Linked DNA regions of Homo sapiens: region 1 is linked to region 2. The links are contacts of gene promoters, found by promoter capture Hi-C in blood cells and fetal thymus (Javierre and others, 2016). All regions are on one chromosome and are shown on one strand. The core of a region is centred on a gene start or on the middle of the fragment in contact, and the rest is flanking DNA. Distances in the headings are between cores, read along the strand shown. Region 1 overlaps MCF2L (MCF.2 cell line derived transforming sequence like). Region 2 holds the start of GRTP1 (growth hormone regulated TBC protein 1).

Evidence for each region. The method cuts DNA at HindIII sites, captures the fragments that hold promoters and counts their contacts. A CHiCAGO score of 5 or more calls a contact.
Region 1: a contact is called between a fragment that was not itself captured here and the fragment with the promoter of GRTP1 in region 2, in 2 of 17 cell types (M0 macrophages and M2 macrophages). The highest score is 5.5, in M0 macrophages.

Annotation. Positions count from the first base shown.
Region 1 is chr13:113,026,767-113,030,099 of GRCh38, reverse strand. All of the region lies in intron 3 of MCF2L (MCF.2 cell line derived transforming sequence like), which reads right to left. Among named protein-coding and RNA genes, the nearest start is that of MCF2L, 59 kb to the right of the region's middle. RefSeq lists enhancers at 1-206, 1,794-2,293, 2,294-2,795. The HindIII fragment of the contact is 8,054 bases long and covers 1-3,333 here.
Region 2 is chr13:113,362,846-113,366,085 of GRCh38, reverse strand. It overlaps GRTP1 (growth hormone regulated TBC protein 1), which reads left to right and starts at 1,956. Exons shown (of 8, transcript NM_024719.4): 1 at 1,956-2,066; 2 at 2,176-2,324. The coding sequence starts at 2,035. RefSeq lists enhancers at 1-396, 397-1,090 and a silencer at 2,078-2,372. The HindIII fragment of the contact is 5,619 bases long and covers 685-3,240 here.

The sequences.
Region 1 (3,333 bases), core at 504-3,003, 340 kb after region 2:
AAACCTATTTCAGTCTAATATTCCAAAAATGATGAGTATAGTCAGATGTAGTGCTTAAATTGGGACACCTGGCATTTGCATATGAAAACAGAAGGAAAGTTAAAATTAGAATACAACATTCTTTCTAAATTGATAAAAGTGATGCTTGGTTTAGAATGTAACAGTTGAAACCCCTTAAAAGCAGCCTTCACGAGAGATTTGTCCATTTAATTTGCATTGACATGTGAAAGAACAGGCCTGGTCAATTTCACTTTTTTCCCACTTAAAGAATGTGCTGGCTGTGCAGCTGTCTGGAAACTGCGTGCTGGGGAACCGCCTGTGCCAGGGTCTCGTCCACCATCTCCTGGAAGAAAAGGTCCAAGCTCCCCTCCCTCTCTTGGTCTCCCAGGGATGTCCCGGGACCGAGCCGCAATGCTCCGCGTCTCCAGCAGAGGGCAGCCCCGCCCCCACCTTGGGAAGAGGGTCCCCCGCAGAGGGTACTTCCCGGGGACACAGCACCCTCAGGGCGCAGTGGGCAGGTCTCCTCCTTGTCACTAGCCTGGCAATTTTGCTCGCCAGGGATGCAGAGACTTCCTCTGGGACGGTCCCCTCTGCCAAGCTGCACCTGCAAGGCTTGCAGGGACCCTGGTTTTATCTGCAGAGGCCATGATTGACCCCCACATTTTTAACACACTCTGCACTTCTCAAGAAGGCATCCCGTAGATGCCCTTAGGAAGAAGATTTCCCTTAGAAATGTGTCAAGAATTGTTCACTCTCTCTGGAAGGACATGCTCAATGGCAACACCCTGGAGGCACGGGGTCCCCACAGCACGCCTGCAGCCCCGTGCTCACAGAAATCCAGGGGAGCTGCCGCGGCTGCTGCGCCCTAGGATGCCGGGACAGCCAGGGGACAGGTGGCTCTTACAGGCCCGCAGCTTCCCTTCTGTGGGTCCTTCTGATCAGGGCACATGGGCGTCCTCCCAAATTCACACAGGTTGGGTTTTGTTATCAAAGAGTTTTATTTCCAGATAGAAAGGGAGCATTGGGTCTGACACTGATGAGACCTACCTGGGAAGAAAGGAAACGTGGGTAGAATGCACGCATACACTCACGCTCACACACACCCCCCACACACCACACCCCACACTCACCCCACACATGCCTCACATAGTCCACACATACCACACACACCACTTACCCCACACATGCCACATGCTCACATTACACACACACCACACATACCCCACACACACCCCGCACACGCCACACACACCACACACTCACCCCACACACACCACAGGCTCACATTACACACACTCACACCACACACTCAGACACCCACACTGAGTCTGGTGGGGGAAACAGCTCCACGGTCAGCAGCACTGCTCATGGCTGAATGAAGCTGGCATTTCCAGGATCTGATTTAGAGCGTTTGGTGATAGAAAGGCCTCTTCCACTTTTTATTATCTAAGTGTGACCAGAAAACCTGAGTTTCCATACACAGGTGAACAGTGGGGATCCATGGAGCTGCCTCTGAGCAACCTGGGGCCCGCGTGTCCACAGCGGGGACTGGGCCTGCGCTCCGGCCACCTTCAGCCAGACCAGGCTGTGCGACTCACAGATGCGCAATCTACAGAGGTGGCTGAGTGGGTCTTGTCCTGCAGGAGTCTGGACCCATCTGAGATTCCTGGATCTCAGGAGAAGCAGACAGACAAGTGGGGCAGCAGCAAGGAGGCCATGGAAGGTTCCAGAACATCGGATAAACAGAGGCGTGCACACATGAACACGTGCCGCCTACCACACTCTTATGGCCTTGATGGGTGGCCTTTGAGTGCTGCAGATTCTAGACAAATCTCAAGAAAAGGGATGTGGGTAGCTAAGGAACTCCGCAGATTCTAGAAAAATCTTGAGAAAGGGATGTGGGTAGCTAAGGGACTCCATGAAGTTTCTAAGACAAAAGAGACAGGAAGGTTCAACAAACAGGAGGCGCCCCAGCTCATGGCTCCAAGTAGCAAGCACTGACAACAGCCCTGATTTCTGAGCATGAGTCTGACCAGTCAGCATTCAGTGTGGACACCACAGAATCTCATTTAGCCCCATGCCAGGAGGTGCCATCAGGGGGCGGATGTACCTGTCAGGCCGGCCGTCCCCTGGGACACAGGCCCTTCCTCCTGTGCAGGTGACAGACAAAGGCCTGGAGGCTTGGAGATGACCGCCCTCCCCAGGACACCCCTCTGGCCACAGCACACCTGGAGCCTACGTCCTCGGGGTACGGCCATGTGGTCTGAGCCTTCGGGCGCTCCCCTGCCCAGCCATCCCCTTTCTCCAGCCATCACCGTGTTATTAAGCCTCATCTATAACATGGGCTTAATAACTGCCTTCCTGCCACAGTGTGGCTGAGAACCAGGGAGGAATGTGTGGAAACCGTCTGCAGCATCGCAGCCTTGCCCCACCAAGCCGGTCCCATCAGCCCCTCAGGGAGCTCGGCCGCTCGGCCCGAGACCCAGCCCCTCCTCCGTGCACTCAGCTCAGCCAGCAGAGCCTGGCGCATAGGGGGTGCAAGATTCTCACAACAGACAAGAGACTGAGGTCAAAACCACAAACCCAACACACAGTGATTTGGGGCTACCAGGACACCGCCATGTCCAGGGCTTTGACCATAGTCAGTCACGAGCCCCCTTCTTTCTGCCCACCAAGACGTCCTGCCCCCGAAAGGCCCACCGGTGAGGCTCCCTGCTCCTCCAGCTCCCACCTCAACCCGCCAAGTGGACAGAGGTGCCCACCGCTCTCCCTCTCCTTGAGGCATGACTGCAGAGGCTGGCTGCTGCCAGCTGGTGGTTATGTGATATTTATCAGGGGATCAATGTGCTGCTTTCCAGGTCAGGCCGACGGGCTGAGCTCTCAGTTACCAGGCCCAGTGCGCTGTTGTCTTTAAAGACTGAAGAATGAAGAACCTTCACGGTAATGGCCACGGCTGCACTTTCACGCTGATGGTTAAACATCTCCTCTGTGTTTTGCCACCTTATGTAATGTGCGGGATACAGATGCCATATTTAAGGATATTTCTGTTTTTACTTGGTGTGTGTTCACTATACCCCAAATGGAAGCAGCAACTACACTGTCTGGTGTGAGGCTGACATTCTCAGCATCTTCCTGGAGGCTGGGACGAGCACATCAGATGAGAGACCCCCGCGGCACCCCTCCCAAGTCAGCCTGCAGCTCACCGGCCTGATGCTGCTCTCCTGCCCGCCGCTGGGGAGACACAGAACTGGGCTCCCTACCTTTTCAGAGGACAGGGACCCAGCTCTGTCTGGAACAAAACAAAAAACTGCAGCCTGAGGGAACCATTTTTGT
Region 2 (3,240 bases), core at 707-3,206:
GAGCCTGGGGCTCTGGCCTCTCTGTATCTCTCCTCTCCACTCTTCCTGGAGGGCACCGCTCTTATCTGACCTGCTCCCCCACAGTCTCCCTACATCTGGCCCAAAAATACACTTGGTGGCAGTCCCGCCATCACACTCAGGCTCGGGAGCTGGCGGCCCCTGGTCCGTGCTGCCTGCCACGCTGCTTTCCACGGCAGTGGTGGGAAAGGGAGGTTAGAACCCCATCTCCATGGCCAGAAGGCAGGAATTAGGGAAAAGGGGAGCCGTGAGGCTTCCAGGCCTGGGGTTGGAACAGAAGCTGCGCGGTGTGGGGCGATTTGGGCGCAGGACCCCGGGTGCTGGGAAGTGGGGAGCAGGACTGTGTCTGTTGCTCCAGAAAGCGCGAGGGATGCGATATAGGAAATTCGGGCGTCAGTTAGAGCCCGAGAGGGGTTCAGGGAGTCACTGACTTAGGCAGAGAGGAGCCCAGACGGGGTTCGAAGACCCTGGGGACGGACGCCCACCTGTCAGTCCTGGACTGTGGGGCACCCGTAGGCCGAGGGGCAGGAGGCTATGGCCCTGTCTCCTGGCTTGGGTCTAAACATCCCAAGGAGGTCAGACCGTAGAGTGGGGGCTGTGTGATCTTTCAAATGAGGGACGCCGCGTGTTACCAAAGGCCAGTGCTGAGGAGCTGGGCTGAAAGCTTGGGGAGTTCCCAGAACCAGCAGACTAGGAACGGGAGGAACCGTGTCGGGGGCTCTGCTCCGCTGGGCACTGACCCCCACCCCGCCCCCCGGTCTTGCAAGGGCTGGAGAAGGGTGAAAGGCAGAGGCGGGAGTCCGCACTTAGGGACCGGTCCGTTCCACACGCTGCTGACCAGGCTCCTGGGTGGCGCTCGCATGGAACATTCCGGAAACACCCATGGGAAGGTCCCAAGTTGGTTCCGAAAGGCCCTGACGGACGCGCAGGGGACGCTGAGCCTGTGATCCTCGCCTCACCCAGACGAGGCCGGGCTGCTTCTCACAGGAAAGTGCGTCTGGAGTCCGGGGACGGCCTCCTCCTGGGGCCTGTCCAGGTCGCCCTGGGCCTAAATTACAGGCGGGGAGAGGCCTGTCGGAGGAGCCCCCGCTCCAGACCCCTGGGGGACCCAGGGCGAGGTCGCCCCAGCGCCTCACGTCTGGGGGCTCCCCTTTGCCACGTCGCCAGAGCAAAATTCAAAATCTGCAGTTCTGGCAAATTTCCGGGGCCTCCCGGACACGAAAAGCAGCTGAAATCTCAGGACAATGTCATTGGATGCGGACCGAGAAGAAGCCGTTCGGAACCAGAGCTGCCCCGGATTCTCCCAGGCCTGGCTCGCCGGTGGGGGGACCCCGGTCCCTGGTTTGGGGGGGCAGGAACGGGCGGGCGCCCCTGGGGGCTTCTCATTTGTGTGTTGGTCTCGGCCTTGAAATGCAGCGGAGAAAATAAAAAATAAAATAAAAATAGGAGTCAGGTGTCAGAGTCGGGTCGGCCAGGCACTGAGGTTTGAAGGAATCGCAGAAGAAGCTCCTCTCACCCGGGTCCAGGCCGCGGGGGTTCTGCGGGAGGCGCCCCCGATTCTGCCCGCGGGACGCCGCGGCCTCGGAAGCCCCGGGAGCAGGCCCCGCCCCGCCCCCACCCTCCTCTCTCCCCAAGTCCTCCCGCCCCCCCAGCCCCGCCCCTCCCCCGCCCTGGGTGCTCCCCTGCCCCTCCCCCGGCCCTCCCCCGCCCCTCACCCGCTCCTGCCCCTCCTCTCTCCCCAGGTCCTCCCGCCCCCAGCCCCGCCCCTCCCCCGCCCTGGGTGCTCCCCTGCCCCTCCCCCGCTCCTGCCCCTCCTCTCTCCCCAAGTCCTCCCCGCCCCCAGCCGCCCCTCCCCCCGCCCTGCCCCCCCCCGCCCCCGCCTCCAGCCCCGCCCCTCTCCGCTCCCCGCCCCGCCCCCACGCGCCCGCGGTCCCGCCGGAAGGACTTAAGCGCCCCGGAGCCGGGAGGCGAACTTGGGACCCGCTGGCCTCGCTCGGTGCGCGCCTCCCTCCCCGCATGCAGCCCGCCGAGCGCTCGCGGGTCCCCAGGTGTGTGGCGCGGGGTGCGGGCGTCCCCGGCGGCTGCGGTCCCCGCGCGGGCCCGCGACCCCCCAGAGGAAACTTCGGGGACGCCGGCCTCCTTCTCTCGGTTTTGCAGGATCGACCCGTACGGATTCGAGCGGCCTGAGGACTTCGACGACGCCGCCTACGAGAAGTTTTTCTCCAGCTACCTGGTCACGCTCACCCGCAGGGCGATCAAATGGTCCCGGCTGCTGCAGGGCGGGGGCGTCCCCAGGAGCCGGACAGGTGGGTCCCGGGGGCGCAGGTGGGTCCCGAGGGCGCAGGTGGGTTGGGCTGGGACGGGCCGGGCAAAGTCCGGGCTCCCGGAGCGGAGGGAGGGGGAGGAACCTTTCCGGGCAGGTCGGGACGAAGCTGCGGGCTCCGAGCTAGGGCAGCCGCAGGGACCGGTTTTCCCGCTTTGAGATGGGCCGGCGGGTCGGACGCGAAGGAGACCCGTCCCTCCCAGCAGGGAGCCATATCGGGATGGATCAAAACTCGATCCATGCCGGGCGCGGTGGCTCACGCCTGTAATCCCAGCGCTTTGGGAGGCCGAGGCGGGCGGATCACGAGGTCAGGAGTTTGAGACCAGCCTGACCAACATGGTGAAACCCCGTCTCTACTAAAAATACAAAATTAGCCGGGCGTGGTGGCTCCTGCCTGTAGTCCCAGCTACTCTGGAGGCTGAGGCAGGAGAATCGCTTGAACCCAGTAGGCGGAGGTTGCAGTGAGCCGAGATTGCGCCATTGCACTCCAGCCTGGGCGACAGAGCGAGACTCCGTCCTTGTGACGGGACCCACAGGGCCCTGCTCGACCTGCCGCTCCTCCGCGACCCCAGGCCTCCTACTGCTGCGGTGAGCACCGGCCTGACCGCCCGCCCGCCTCGGGGTTAGCTGCAGGGCCCCCTCCTCCGGGGCGCCCCAGGCTTCCCTGTGCGGAGGGCACCTCCTCATTTCTGCCTTTCCCAGCACAGCCCCTGCTGGAGTCAAAAACCCTTCCTCCCTGCAACGGATTTTTCATTCACTGCTCAGTCCTCAGAACCTGGGGCAGTGCCAGGCGACTTCCCTGTGTGTTCAGTGAATGAATGAAGTGTCTGCCTGGGGTGAGGGCTTGGTGGGAGTGTGCCCTGGAGCTAGGAACTCAGAGAAGTGGGGTCAAAGGGGAG